Regions from separate parts of the Homo sapiens genome. Here all the other regions are linked to region 1. The links are contacts of gene promoters, found by promoter capture Hi-C in blood cells and fetal thymus (Javierre and others, 2016). All regions are on one chromosome and are shown on one strand. Each heading gives the region's core, a stretch centred on a gene start or on the middle of the fragment in contact. The rest is flanking DNA. Distances are from core to core; before and after follow the strand shown.

What was found. Contacts are between HindIII fragments. The CHiCAGO score rates a contact against its expected background, and 5 or more counts as called.
Region 2: a fragment that was not itself captured here is called in contact with the fragment with the promoter of TFAP2B in region 1 in 7 of 17 cell types (monocytes, endothelial precursors, M2 macrophages and 4 more); the score reaches 10.0 in monocytes.
Region 3: a fragment that was not itself captured here is called in contact with the fragment with the promoter of TFAP2B in region 1 in 2 of 17 cell types (M0 macrophages and monocytes); the score reaches 5.7 in M0 macrophages.
Region 4: a fragment that was not itself captured here is called in contact with the fragment with the promoter of TFAP2B in region 1 in 5 of 17 cell types (M2 macrophages, monocytes, M0 macrophages and 2 more); the score reaches 8.2 in M2 macrophages.
Region 5: a contact is called between a fragment that was not itself captured here and the fragment with the promoter of TFAP2B in region 1, in 3 of 17 cell types (neutrophils, endothelial precursors and M0 macrophages). The highest score is 6.0, in neutrophils.

Annotation. Positions count from the first base shown.
Region 1 is chr6:50,817,590-50,820,161 of GRCh38, forward strand. TFAP2B (transcription factor AP-2 beta) reads left to right here and starts at 1,282. Exons shown (of 7, transcript NM_003221.4): 1 at 1,282-1,383. The coding sequence starts at 1,303. It overlaps LOC124901490 (a long non-coding RNA gene), which reads right to left and starts at 1,437. Exons shown (of 2, transcript XR_007059923.1): 1 at 1,313-1,437; 2 at 1-55. The HindIII fragment of the contact is 1,562 bases long and covers 1-1,345 here.
Region 2 is chr6:51,947,173-51,949,744 of GRCh38, forward strand. The region is part of intron 36 of PKHD1 (PKHD1 ciliary IPT domain containing fibrocystin/polyductin); the gene reads right to left. Among named protein-coding and RNA genes, the nearest start is that of PKHD1, 140 kb to the right of the region's middle. The HindIII fragment of the contact is 1,340 bases long and covers 629-1,968 here.
Region 3 is chr6:51,927,653-51,930,224 of GRCh38, forward strand. The region is part of intron 37 of PKHD1 (PKHD1 ciliary IPT domain containing fibrocystin/polyductin); the gene reads right to left. Among named protein-coding and RNA genes, the nearest start is that of PKHD1, 160 kb to the right of the region's middle. The HindIII fragment of the contact is 1,539 bases long and covers 528-2,066 here.
Region 4 is chr6:51,858,952-51,861,523 of GRCh38, forward strand. The region is part of intron 48 of PKHD1 (PKHD1 ciliary IPT domain containing fibrocystin/polyductin); the gene reads right to left. Among named protein-coding and RNA genes, the nearest start is that of PKHD1, 230 kb to the right of the region's middle. The HindIII fragment of the contact is 3,672 bases long and covers 1-2,572 here.
Region 5 is chr6:51,840,531-51,843,102 of GRCh38, forward strand. All of the region lies in intron 50 of PKHD1 (PKHD1 ciliary IPT domain containing fibrocystin/polyductin), which reads right to left. Among named protein-coding and RNA genes, the nearest start is that of PKHD1, 250 kb to the right of the region's middle. The HindIII fragment of the contact is 3,172 bases long and covers 1-2,572 here.

The sequences.
Region 1 (2,572 bases), core at 32-2,531:
GGCGCAGAGATCCTCTTCTGGGCGTCTGTTCCGGCTATGAGAAGCTCTCCGCACCCTGAAAGGGAGTAGAAAAACAGAGGGGATGGGAAAGGGGGAACAGGGGAACAGATGAGTATTCATTTCATGATAAAATTCAGAATCCCTGCGCCTTAAATGGTGCCCATTTTCTAAGTCTGGTTAATATTGTTCTTGTTGCTGATGATGTTTTCCTTTTTAAAAACTATATGAATCATCTTATTAAGAAAAATTATACAAAAAAAAGAAGAAACTCCACATGCACTAAAATATTTTTCACTATCTCTTTGAAGACATTCTGCTTAAACCTTTTCAAAGATTCGGGTGGCCCTTTCTTGACTCTCCATGATTAAAACCACTTACAAGTCATACACAACAGATGCAAATATAAAATGTCCTTGGCCTCTGCAAAAAAGGCTCAAAATTAACCTTGTCTGAACGTGTGCGTACGTTGCTTCCAACATCTGAAAAAAACTTGATAAAATGGAGACTCCAGCCAAGAGGAATGGTGCATGGAATCCGTTGAAAATGCATACAAACAACACCTAAAATAACAAGCAGCACAAACTGAGGTGTATTTAAGTTTCCAAAGGTTTTAGGTAAAATGACCAGAAAATATTAGAAATGGTCATCAACGGTGGCTAGCTTTTTTGTTCTATGGTGACAGAGATAAAGTTAAAAAAAAAAAAGTTGTGTAGCCATCAACACAGAGATAGTCCTTAAAATCCCCCATATCCAGCCTTTCAAAATACTCTCTTCCGGAACATACATGAATAGGAGGGAGCTTTTGTGTTTAAAAATCTTGGTAAGTGTCCCCCTTTAAAATCTACATAGAAAATAGGGGACTGATGGCCCCTGGTTTCTCATTATGAATTGCAAAGACTTCAGTTAGTGGCTACAATGATGTGTCATTTTCGATATAGAAGTTATAAAATGTATATATTATATTAATCACCCTGAACAACTCTTTGTTAAATGCACATTTGGAGTCTGCAGACTGTGTGACCCAGAGGTGCTTATATAACTATATGTGGGTGTCTGGGTGTAAATACGGGTTTATGATTTTTATAGTATATATGTCTGTGGGTTGCATCTAACTCCTGTGTGTGCAATAATGTTTTTTCTCTTTGCTGAGGCTTACTTGTCCAGCCTATTGTTTGAGACAACAGATATAAGTTGCGATGGGAGAGGAGCGTCGGATTTGGTGTGTATCCCCCATTTCCAATTATAGATGGATCATTACAGACAGCGGAGTCCTGAGAAGCCAGACATCTGCTCCTCACATGAATGCACTCACCTCCTAGAGACCAGGCTGCCATCATGCTCTGGAAGCTTGTGGAGAATGTCAAGTACGAAGATATCTATGAGGTGAGTCGACACCCCCAGATGCACCTTAGAGCTTTGCAGATAGAGAATTTGAGCTTCTTGATACCCCAAATGATATATATTTTTAAGCTATTTACTCGTAGATTTCCGGTCGGTTTTCTCAGCTTTTTTTAACTTTTAGAAAAGCTGGCTAGGGAAGACTTCGCTGCTCTGAAAAGGGACTTTAAGGCTGAAATCTGACAACTTTAATTTAGGAATGTTTTTATTTATTTTATTTTTCTTTCCCTTTTCCTCGCCTCCCCCCACCCCACCCCACCCTTTTAAGCTCTGATGGGGAATGTGGTGCTACTGAATGTGGGCACGCTCTCAGAGAAAATCGAGATTCTGATAAAGTCAGGGGCTTTTCTCGTTTTAAGTGTGGAAGAGAATTGGGTTTTCAAGCCTCATTTGTAACAGACTCGGGCTTTTAATTTTTATTTTCAATAAAATTTCTGAAATTGATAACAAATGGTTCCAAGTAGAGGACAGAGAATTAGCGGGAAAGAAGTAGATGGCTGGAGATATGGATGGATAGAGCAAAATAGAAGTCGTAGCAGTTTATTAGTTTCTGTTTTCTTGTGTTTTGCTTCCTTGAGGGTCACTGCGTCCGAACAGAAATCGCAGCCGCCTCCTGTGTGGGCATCTTTCACGGAAATTTCTGCCCACGTTCAATGCGTACGGGTCTCTAGCACTGAGGCTAGCTCAACTCTTCGGGGCAGGAGAAGTTGCGCCCAGCCAGGAGGACGCCAGCCGCCTCCGGGGCCCGGACCGCGCTCGCCAAAGCCCTTTTCCGGCTCGGGCGAGGGCTGACGCGGCCAGACGGCTCCGCTACTCGCGGGCGAGGCGGACTAGGCGGACGAGGCGGCCGAGGCGGGCGAGGTGGGAGAGGCGGGCGAGGTGGGAGAGGCGGCCGAGGCGGGCGAGGCGCGGGGCGCGCGGCGGGCCAGGCTGGGGACCGGGAAGCCCGCGGAGCCTCGCTTTTAAGCGGAATGGTCTGGGACAGCCCCAGGTGGTTGCCAGGGGAAGGGAGGAAGGGAAGGTTCTGCTGAGACGTCGAGGTTGGAAATAAAAACTTCGGAAAGGCGAAGCGGATTTAGAAAAGGAGGGAAGTCGAGGCGGGCGAAGCGGGCCATGGAGATTGCTAAGAGGAAAAGTTGGAGAGAAAAGGAAGGAAGAGAAGCAGACTCCCGGG
Region 2 (2,572 bases), core at 49-2,548, 1.1 Mb after region 1:
TGCTCAGTCCTCACCCTTCCCGAGTGACCAGCAGCATTTGACAACTTGGTCACTTCTTTCCTAAAACTCCCTCTCCTCACTTGCCCAGCCTCTTTGTTTTTCTTTCTTTCATTTTCTCATCTCTATTTAAAAAATCCAATGTTTCTATACTTCTATCAAATTTTCATCATGTGCTATATTCTATACATTGTATTGAATCGCTAAAGAAAACCTCATAAAATGCAAAAGTGCTAGTAACTCATAAAAGAACAGAAGAATAAACTCTTCTATTTAGAACCTTTGTCTTTCCTTCACCTGGTATCTAATTTCATGTCTTCATTTTTAGCAAATACTAAGAAAGCTCCCTATTGACTCAATGACAGTGAGCACATGGGACTTTTCTAATTAAGTAGGTTGGGTACAAACCCAGCTGGTTTTCCTCTTACTTCTTAGGCATCCTCTTCTCAGCCTCTTCTGCCTGATTCCTCCTGATCATCCCAACCACTGACACTTGGTGGGTCCCAAGCCTCAGCCCTCTAAACACGTTTCTTATCAGTCTCTGTAGACCATGCCAGTTGTCCCATCTTGTCTTAAGGTTTTAAACACCATCGCACGCTAATTGTCAATGACTCTCAAATTTATATCTCCAAGCTTGTGCCCTCAGCTCAAGATTCACATACCCAACTGCCTACTCAACATCTCTACTTGGATGTCTCATAGTTTCTTAACTATGAGTATCCATGAACTCCTTTCCTTGTCTTGCCCCACAGATCTTCCCTCAGTCCTTCCCATTCCATGAATGGTAACTTCATCCTTGCAATTGCTAAGTCTGAAAATCACAGAGTTAACTTTCACTGTCTCTCACTCCATAATCAATACTTCAGGAAATTGTATGCATTCCACCTTCAAAACGTCCCCTATAACCCAACCACTTACCACCTCCACATCTACTTCTGGGGTCCAAGTCACTCTCATCTCACCCATGGATTATTGTAACAGCATCTTAACTTAGCTCCCTGTTTCTGCCCTTATCCTCTACCTCAGGGTTAATTCTCAAAACAACACTCAGTGTTGTCATTCCTTCTTTTCATGTGAACCATATCGTGTTACCTCTCTGCCAAAATTCTTCAATGGCTCCCATCATATTTAGAGTCAAAGCCTATCAAACCTTACAGCGTTGGTTCTCTCTGGCCCCATCTGCCTCTGCTCTCCCCCTTGTTCCAATACTCCTTTTTGCTCCCTTGCCTCACAACATTTGCTATCGCTGTGTGCCAATATCCCCAACTACCACCTCCAATGTGTATTCCCTATTCACCTCTCCTGCTGCATTTTTCTCCATGGTACTAAGCAAATTTAACAAAAACTATAATTTTCTTATTTTGTTTATTGACTGTTTTCCTTCTAGAAGTAAACACCATGAGAGCAAGATTTTGGCCTGTTTTGTTCACAGCCATAGTCCCTGTGCCTGGAACATGGGGAACGTGTTAAGTGATCACTCAATACTTGTTGAATAACGAGGAGTTGAAATTATCAAAGTAAATGAGGTCTCCCAGGGAGGACATGTAGAGTAAGAACAGAAGAAAGGTAAGGTGGGTAAAGGTAGGGAAACAACTGTCAACCATCAACATTTAAAGGCTAGAATAAGAAACAAGATTCTTGAGAGCAGATCAAAGAATTAGGTGAGTTAGAAGGATCATAAGGTTGTAGACATAGGCTCAACGAAGAGCCTTAAGAACTGTTAAAGAGGTAGATGAGTGTGTCAAACCCTTAATGCCATTTTTAGGAAGATCAAGAGAGAAAAGGTGCACAGCCAGCATGTACAGAGTTAGGATGTGAATGTCAGGTGATAAAATAAACCCAGGGAGAGTGATTCTATTTTTAAACAGAGGAAAAATGAGAGGTAAATGGAGGCAAGACCAGGGAGGGATCTGAGAACCCCAATTCATTAGATTAATCTGTATCACCAAGCTAGATAATTCATTTACTCAAAGCTTGAACTATCTAAATTTTTAGATGTAAACTAATTTACTTGCCTACATTGATTAACCCCCAATTCACCATTTTTTCTTAAAAAATTTAGCAGCCTATATATTCTTACCTTTCAATTATTAAATAGTCAAATGGATAGTCGAGGAAGCCTGTGGAATTCCCTTTCCCTGGAGAAAAGGAATCATCCATTCAAGATGGACAAATCCTGCTCTGCCTGGGTAAGGAGAGCTGGCTGAGTGATCTGGGCAGAGTTGGAGTATATCCCTGTACCTTACTGCACTGTGCTGCTCTGGGAGCAGGAGCCAGGAGAAGGTGAGGAAGAGGAGGAAAGAGGAGCATTTAGAGAAGGCACCCACAGCCCAAAGAAACCTGCATTGTGACACGGATGGACACAGCTTCCTTTGTTGGCAAGATCCGGATTAGACTTGTGCCTGATCCACTGGAGCAGAGCCTGGGAAGCCTTCGAGGTGGGCTTGTCCCCAGCCAGAGAGGCGGAAAATCAATTTGGCTGGCAAACGAGAGCCCCCAAGAGCTTAGTCCACGCTCCATAATCCTATCCACTAGCAGCTCAGGAAATAGATGCCTGAGCCCTCACATATTCATG
Region 3 (2,572 bases), core at 47-2,546, 1.1 Mb after region 1:
TCTTTTCCCAGGTGGAATGTCTGCATATGCAGCCTATTTGCTCAGCTGCTCATGCTTATCTAAGCAGGGGAAACAATTAGAGAAAGAGCAGAGCAGAGAAAGGGGTGATAAGTGAAACATCTTTCATGTGGATTTGTAAGTTTCCTCTGGATAGCTGAATTGTAGGGAAGATAGCTTGGCTTGAACCAACTTTCTAGTACTCCACCAAGACCAACCCCCAAGGTGGATGCTAACGGATTGAAAACCCAAGTGGGGCTTCCACATTGAGAAACTGTGCAGTGGAAAAGCCTCCTACAAGACTCCAGTGATTTCATGCAGGCATCTTAGGAGGGAGACTCAATAGTCAGCAATTATTATTCAGAGAGAGAGCAACACCCAACAGAGGATATAGGTGCACCGTTAAGTATTAAGCTTGTTAAACCTCTCACCTTACCTCTTCCACCTGCCCCATACTGACAATATGAAATAAGAAGGATTAGAGGAAGAGTGAGGGAGCAGACCCTACCATCCCAAGTGCCTCAAGTTGAAGCTTTGTGGGTGAGGAAGGTAACATTAAATGAATAGGAGACTGAGTTTTTAAACTAGATTAATCAGGACTGGCATTTTCAATATCTGAAATCAACTGGAAAGCTATTGGTAACCAAGGTGTTTTTAAAGGACAAGAAAAAGGATCCATCAGAATACAGACGAAGGTAGTGACTAAAGAAAAATAAAATCTATTCTGAGTCAGACTTCTGTCTGAAAGGTTTGCATCTACCAAACATCCCTAAAATTGTGTCGGTTGCATTTGCTCAGGCCTGTGGCAAATTTACACACCACATCAGCTCAAGTTTCCCATGAAATCACAGGTAATATTTTGTGGTGATAAATGCAAGGGGAAAGCAGAAGTGAAAATGTGGCTTGAGCTTGGACAGTCAGAGTGCACTTTCCCCCTGGGCACCATGTATAGTCCTTAGTCTGCTAAGTAACTCTAGCGGACTTTGGGAGGCCTCCCCTGGTTATTTTTTGAAAAGAATACAGTGTTCCTTTCTTTGGTAGTAGAAAATCAAAGTCCACATGAAATCAGGAAGTCCCAATAACCATAGAGAAGGCAGCAATAAGGAGTAGGAGAGAGTGAAGTCAATACATGCAGAGACAGCCAGGGTAAGGGACTGAGGGGTGAGTCCTGTGGACATTCGGACCCTTGAAGACAGTCACGTCTAAGGCCATTGTCTTTCTCTCCATCCTGCGTTTTGATTACAAGAATTCATAAATCCTTGGTTCTAAGTTTGTTTCCAGTGGGCTTCTGTCCCCTAAAACCAAACAATTTCAGAGTAATAAAGCTACATATAAAAATGCCATGTCATAGCTCTGGTTTGTATCTAGCTCAAGGGAACGAGAGACAGAAGAAAAGGGAGGAGTCTTGGTCTAGAAGAAATAGGTAAGGAAAGGGGCAAGAGGAGACAGCATTGGAGACTATTAATCAGGTGACGAGAGAGTGGAGATTTAAAAATATATTGTTGGATAAGAGGAACTGTTATGACATGAAAATGGGCTCTAGAAAGTTTCACCCTACATCAAAGAACAGACTTTATAGAAAATGTCCCAGAGCTAAATCAGTCTTGGGGAAACAGGAATCATGCAGAGAGGCCCTGGACACCTCAAAAGGATCCATACACCACAGCTAAAAGAATGACCTAGTAGAGTTTTTTAATCACAGTTTTAACAGTGGAACTCTTTCTTCTAACAAACTGTTACTTTGAACACAAATATATAACAGATAAAAGCAATAAATCAATTACTTGAGCAATTTAAACCTTTATTACTTGACCTCCAATATTCATTGTTTAGGGAACCCCTAAATCCCCTCCAGGAAACATTTGGATTTTGTGGAGCACAATGTGAAAACCACTGACCGGAAACACACTCCCACACATGTGCCTGTTCCACACACTTTATACCATGCTTAAAGACAGCCTGATACTCTAGCAACTATGAAAATAGTGCATATTACACAGTACTCATAGCAACCATGGAATTTACATGCAGACACTTGGCATTTTCAGAAGGAAAACAAACCATATCTAAGCTTGCTTATTTAGACCACTGCTTTTATTTATTCCTACCAAATTCTTATGTTCCTTGCAATTGCACTCGTGCTTTCTTCAATCATGCCCCACATACTGCTTTTTCTCAGGAATTTCCATGTATATTTAATGCCTATATCTTGTAATTTCTTGAAAAGGACAAAGACAGAAGTCCAGCCAAGGCCATGAGACTGTTTTTCTCCTAAGAAACTGTCAGCCAAATTTCTCAGGGAGAAACTGGAAATGAAGTGAGAGACATTGATAAATTTCCCTGCTGAACAATCAATAAAAGCTCCACCATCCTGCTCAGATTCCCACTGTGGAAGCAAGAGCCGTAATTACGTTGTCAAAAATTTAAGTTGCCCAGGCTGACAGCAACCCACTTGAAAAGTGACAAGTGATTGGCACTCAGTTTGGAGTGGTGAACCTGGATTGGCAGACAGAGTGATGAAAGCAAAAGGCAAGAGTGAAATTTCCTTATTGACTACAGCTACCCAAACCCCAGA
Region 4 (2,572 bases), core at 37-2,536, 1.0 Mb after region 1:
TATTTGCCAAGAGGACAAACATAGTCAGTGGTCAGAAAACCTCTCCTAGGCACACACAAGCAATGTGCACTAATAATGGTCTCTGGTCTAGGAAAATGCTATGATTTCCTTGAAAACTCATATTTCTGCAATCCTAGTCAAGTGCTGTCAATTAAACCACTTTTTAAAAATAGTTTTAACTACAAACCAAAAGAAGATCTCTGTTCAAAAGCATCCATCTGTTCACATTTAATTCCTCCTGCCTCACCTATCTTCTCATGCATACCACGTTGATCATTAAAAAAAATTACCTCGGCCGGGAGCGGTGGCTTATGCCTGTAATCCCAGCACTTTGGGACGCCGAGGCGGGTGGATCATGAGATCAGGAGATCGAGACCATCCTGGCTAACACGGTGAAACCCCGTCTGTACTAAAAATACAAAAAATTAGCTGGGCGTGGCAGCATGCGCCTGTAGTCCCAGCTACTCGGGAGGCTGAGGCAGGAGAATGGCGTGAACCTGGGAGGCAGAGCCTGTAGTGAGCAGAAATCGCGCCACTGCACTCCAGCCTGGGCAACAGAGCGAGATTCCGTCCCAAAAAAAAAAAAAAAAAATTACCTCAATATGTGATAGTATAATCAATTGGGTAGATATTTCCAGAAATATTTTTTAATTCCAGCAATGTGGTCCCAAGAATTCCCCTGGTCACCTTAACTGGACTTAATTGCTCGTCAAATTTCAATTAACACCACATTTACAGACCAATTTTTAGGATGTTATTTCCCCTGACTCAGTTTCTGTAGATTACAATTTCAATTATTGAAGGAAGCATTTTTCAGATAATCTCCCCAGTTTCTGAAGGCCCATACAAATGTGGTCCCTCTTCAAATAGTGTCAAACTGCTAAATGCTAGCAATAATTTGGTTCTATTTGTCTTTGGAAACATTGCACCTTCCTTTTGAGGTTCTTCTCCTTCTAGTCAGAATCCAATAATCTGATGCAAACTCCTTGGCCAACCAGAGACATACCATAGCACACTGTGATCCTAAATTACTTTCTTATTTCTCCTTCATGCACTGCTCATTCTCTCAGAGCCTTGAGTCTATCAAGCTCCCCTCACCCATCTCAACCAAGGTTTATTAGGGATGCAATTTCATAGGCACTCATGTGCAGCACCAGCTTTCTGTAGTGCAATACAGGTAGAGAAGGAGGTTATCATATATACTACACTTTTATCACAGCTGATAGGAGAGAGGGTCATATGGTAAGCATTCAGATATGCTTTCCACTCTGAAAAGCAACTCAAAAAGCAAAAGACCCATCTCCCATCAGGCAAGATGGCTTGTACTGACCATCACCAGGGGCCAAAAATTCAGTCAGGTCATCTCCTGTCCTCCTAGGCCAAATGCCAGAATTGACCATGGAGGGGTCTTCTGAAAAGCACCAAAAGAACATCAAGAGTCCAAAAAACACCATGAAGAGAACTTACCAACAATAATTACTACAATTTTCACTTGCCCTAAATAGCCACCAATTTCCCCATGCCCTAAATAGCCACCAATCTCCCACTCTTTACTGTTAATGAAGCAAAGGAGCACAAAAGTATTTCTAATTTGGAGGAGCCAAGGGAGTCTGCATGGGCCATTAGCAGTAGAGAGCTTCATTACTAGGGGAAGAAGTCTCTCCCTGAACTTCTCATGGCTTTATGTGCAAGAAATCAGGAGGCAACCAGTCCATTTTAAATGTTAACCCTTACCTCTGCATCAGCAACAGCTCCTCCTGTCTATGATCAAAAAGACAAAAGGGCTATAAGCCTTACATGTTGTTTTTCTTTTCTGTGGGCTGTCTTAATGTTTGTTCTTTTTTATTTTATTTTTTATTTTATTATTATTATTATTTGAGATGGAGTTTCACTCTTGTTGCCCAGGCTGGAGCACAGTGGCATGATCTCGGCTCACTGCAACCTCTGCCTCTCAGGTTCAAGCAATTCTCCTGCCTCAGACTCCTGAGTAGCTGGGATTACAGGCACCCACCACCACACCCAGCTAATTTTTTATATTTTTAGTACAGATGGGGTTTCACCATGTTGGCCAGGCTGGTCTCGAACTCCTGACCTCAGGTGATCCACCCGCCTCAGCCTCCCAAAGTGCTGAGATTACAGGCGTGAGCCACCATGCCTGGCCCAAACCTGTTTTTAATTCAGGGAAATGTTCCATTAGAAATATAACACTATCACTTGGTAAAACTTCCTGGTCAAAGTACCAATTTACCATACTAGTTACTTAAAGAGTTATGTAACTTAGTGCCCATGTACTGTAAAGAACTGTTGAATCCCACAAAGGATTTGTTAGGCAATCAATAATACCAATGAGAGCAGATATTAACTCCCTGGTTTTTGTTTACCATTAGCTTACTTTTCCTGAGGGTCCATATCTGTGTATTAAAGACAAGCATTGCACAGAGCTCTAAATGCTCTTGATTTGGAACAGTTGTGAAATAAATCCTCTGTAATTATCCATCTCCTAAGCCAGACACACCACAATACCTAACCTCAAATTGTGTTGCAAACATCTTCTGAGTATTTGTGCTTGTTG
Region 5 (2,572 bases), core at 25-2,524, 1.0 Mb after region 1:
ACTCAGAGCAATGTTTTTCATACTTCTGTGGAGGTATTTGTGATTTCCCAGACCCTGCCACAGACCTACACAGCCTGAATCTCTCAGGAGGGTCCTGGGAATAAGCATTTCAGCTGTTTACACAGGAGGCAAAAAAACACAAATGTAAGGAACTAAACAAATTTTCTCATACTACACTCTTAAAATATTGTTTGTTCTCAGGAGCAGGTGTTCTTACCAAGTAAAGAGCGAGACCCAGATGGAAAAGATCCTTACTTCACAATTCGTACTTTTTATCAATTATACCAAACCCTTACAGACCAAATCATATTCCCAAGATGTTAAATGCACAATGGTTACTTTAGAGGCATAAAAAGTTTCATTTTAGTATCTATACATTGTAAAGTATTTTAGAAAAAAACAACTAACCCATTAAACCCATGATTTCATGGATATTATTAAGAAAAGTTAGGTTTTAAAAATAAGACAGTGTAGAAATTGATTTAAGAAAAATATTAAGTAAATAATCAGACAAGAGGTATAAGGATATGACACAATTATGAAAATGGTACTAAAATATCTAAAGTTCAGGAAGCACAGTGTTAACTAAGTATTGTTTTTTCTTATAAATTGAAAGAAGAAGAGTTGGTTTAAAAGGTTAGGTATATAAGCTCAGATTTAAAAAAAGAAAAGATGGTATACTAGAAAAAGCACTGAACCTAGAGTCAGAAAAGCTATTTGAATACTGGTTGCACCACCTATGACCTGTGTGAATTAAGGCTAGCAACTCAGCATTGCGGAGCATTAACTCCTTAACCTGAGTGATTCCTAAAAGATGTATTTGATTCTAAGTTTCCTTCCCTTTCCTTTCTCCTCCTCTCCTCTTCTCTCCTCTCCTCTCCTTTCCTTCCTTTTCTCCTTCTCTTCCTGCCTTTTCCTTTTGGAGTTGTTTCCAACCAAGAGGCAAAATCCCTTTTCACATCCCCAGCCTCTGTTCTGTTATCTATATTTTTGCCATAAAGGTTAGTGCAGTTCCCTGAAGTCAATTCTCTACATACTGGTAAAAATCCTTGGGGATCTTTGGGAATGAGTTTTTCATAAGAATGTAAATTAATTTATTAACTAGAATGCTGTGGATTGCCTTAGAGGGGCTCAGCATGGGAATGGCTGCAGAGTTGCAAAAAGATTCTGATTCCGCTCTGCCTACAAAATCTTCCCCAAGAGGTCACAGGAGCCAGCTGACGCCACTCTCCTCCTTAGATCCTAAAGGAATTATTTTCCAGGATTTGCAGGCAGTCTTCTAGGCCAGCTGAAGAAGAGAAGATTTATGCAAGCAGCCTGCTTGGCTCCAGGGCCCTTGTTGCATTGAGGAAAGGAAACCTGGGCAGTGGTAGACAGGATCAGGAGCCTAGGCTCCAACCCAGGAAAGCACTCCTGATTTTTTAGGCTCTCCCAAATTAACAGCATCTTTTCTGACCCATCTTTGTGATGAGACAGACCTGAGTTCTTCTAGGCAACTTGGCACACACAATAAAGTCCATCTGCCTTTCCATGCACAGCCCTCTTGCCCTTTATTCGTGGTGAGGCGGACATTTGGACACAAGTGTTGGCCAGCCTGGCTAGACATGTCCTTTTTTTCTCAGTCAGATCAGAAGGTGGTGGTGCAGCAGGAGCCTCAGCCTTACAGGCAGACCTTCTCAGCTGCCGCCTCACACAATGTCCCAGCTCGGCTGCATCTCTGCTCCATGAGTGGGGGCTGTGTGAACTCGGGAGGGCAACTGTGAATGGCACAGCATCTGATATGAATTTATCACCGGCTGCTGGTCGGGAGGGGGATCAAGCTAGGGGAAGGGGCTGTGTTTAATGCACCCTGCCACAACCCAACAGTTTGCCCTAAAGAGCCTTTTACCAATATAAAAGGACAGGGTCAAAAGTAAGTTGACCCCTGACAGAATGTACAATTATTAGAAGAAGGCTGTGTGCGAGCAGCTGCTGGAACCCCACTGACTCTGCATCGGGCTTCCAAGAGTCAGATTATGAATAATCAACTCAAGATTGTTTTCTCCACCCTTCTCAACCTCCCCCCGCCTCCCTCCAATCTTCTCCTCCTGTTTTGGGCAAGTCCTATTCTATTTCTACAGGAAGAAGCATAGCCCTCCCTAGCAGCTGCAATAATTGTGTTCCTATTGTGATGAAGACCTCCTCCTGGCCACCCCCCTACAAGTGGCCATTGTGAGTGGAAAGTCAGTGATTATACGCTCCCTCTGATGCTTTGGGGGACCCAGCTGCCTAAGTGCTGACACAGGAGTGTGCAGAAGGCCAGGGAGGGGGCTGGTGGAGGTGGAGGCAAGAGGTGGGGGAAACCCACGTCTGTGAGACTGGACTCTGACATACCAGACCTTTTGCATAAGTCAAGCCAAGAACAAATGAGGCATTATCAGGCCCCAGTGTTGAGAGGTCTCATCTCCCTTTGAAGTGGAGCTGAGCGTGGGGCCAAGCAGCTTTTCCTCCTTTGGACCAAGCAAACATCCTTCTTTTGATATGCTACATGCTCATTATCTCTGCCCCATTTAATGATTTTTGATTGAAGGGT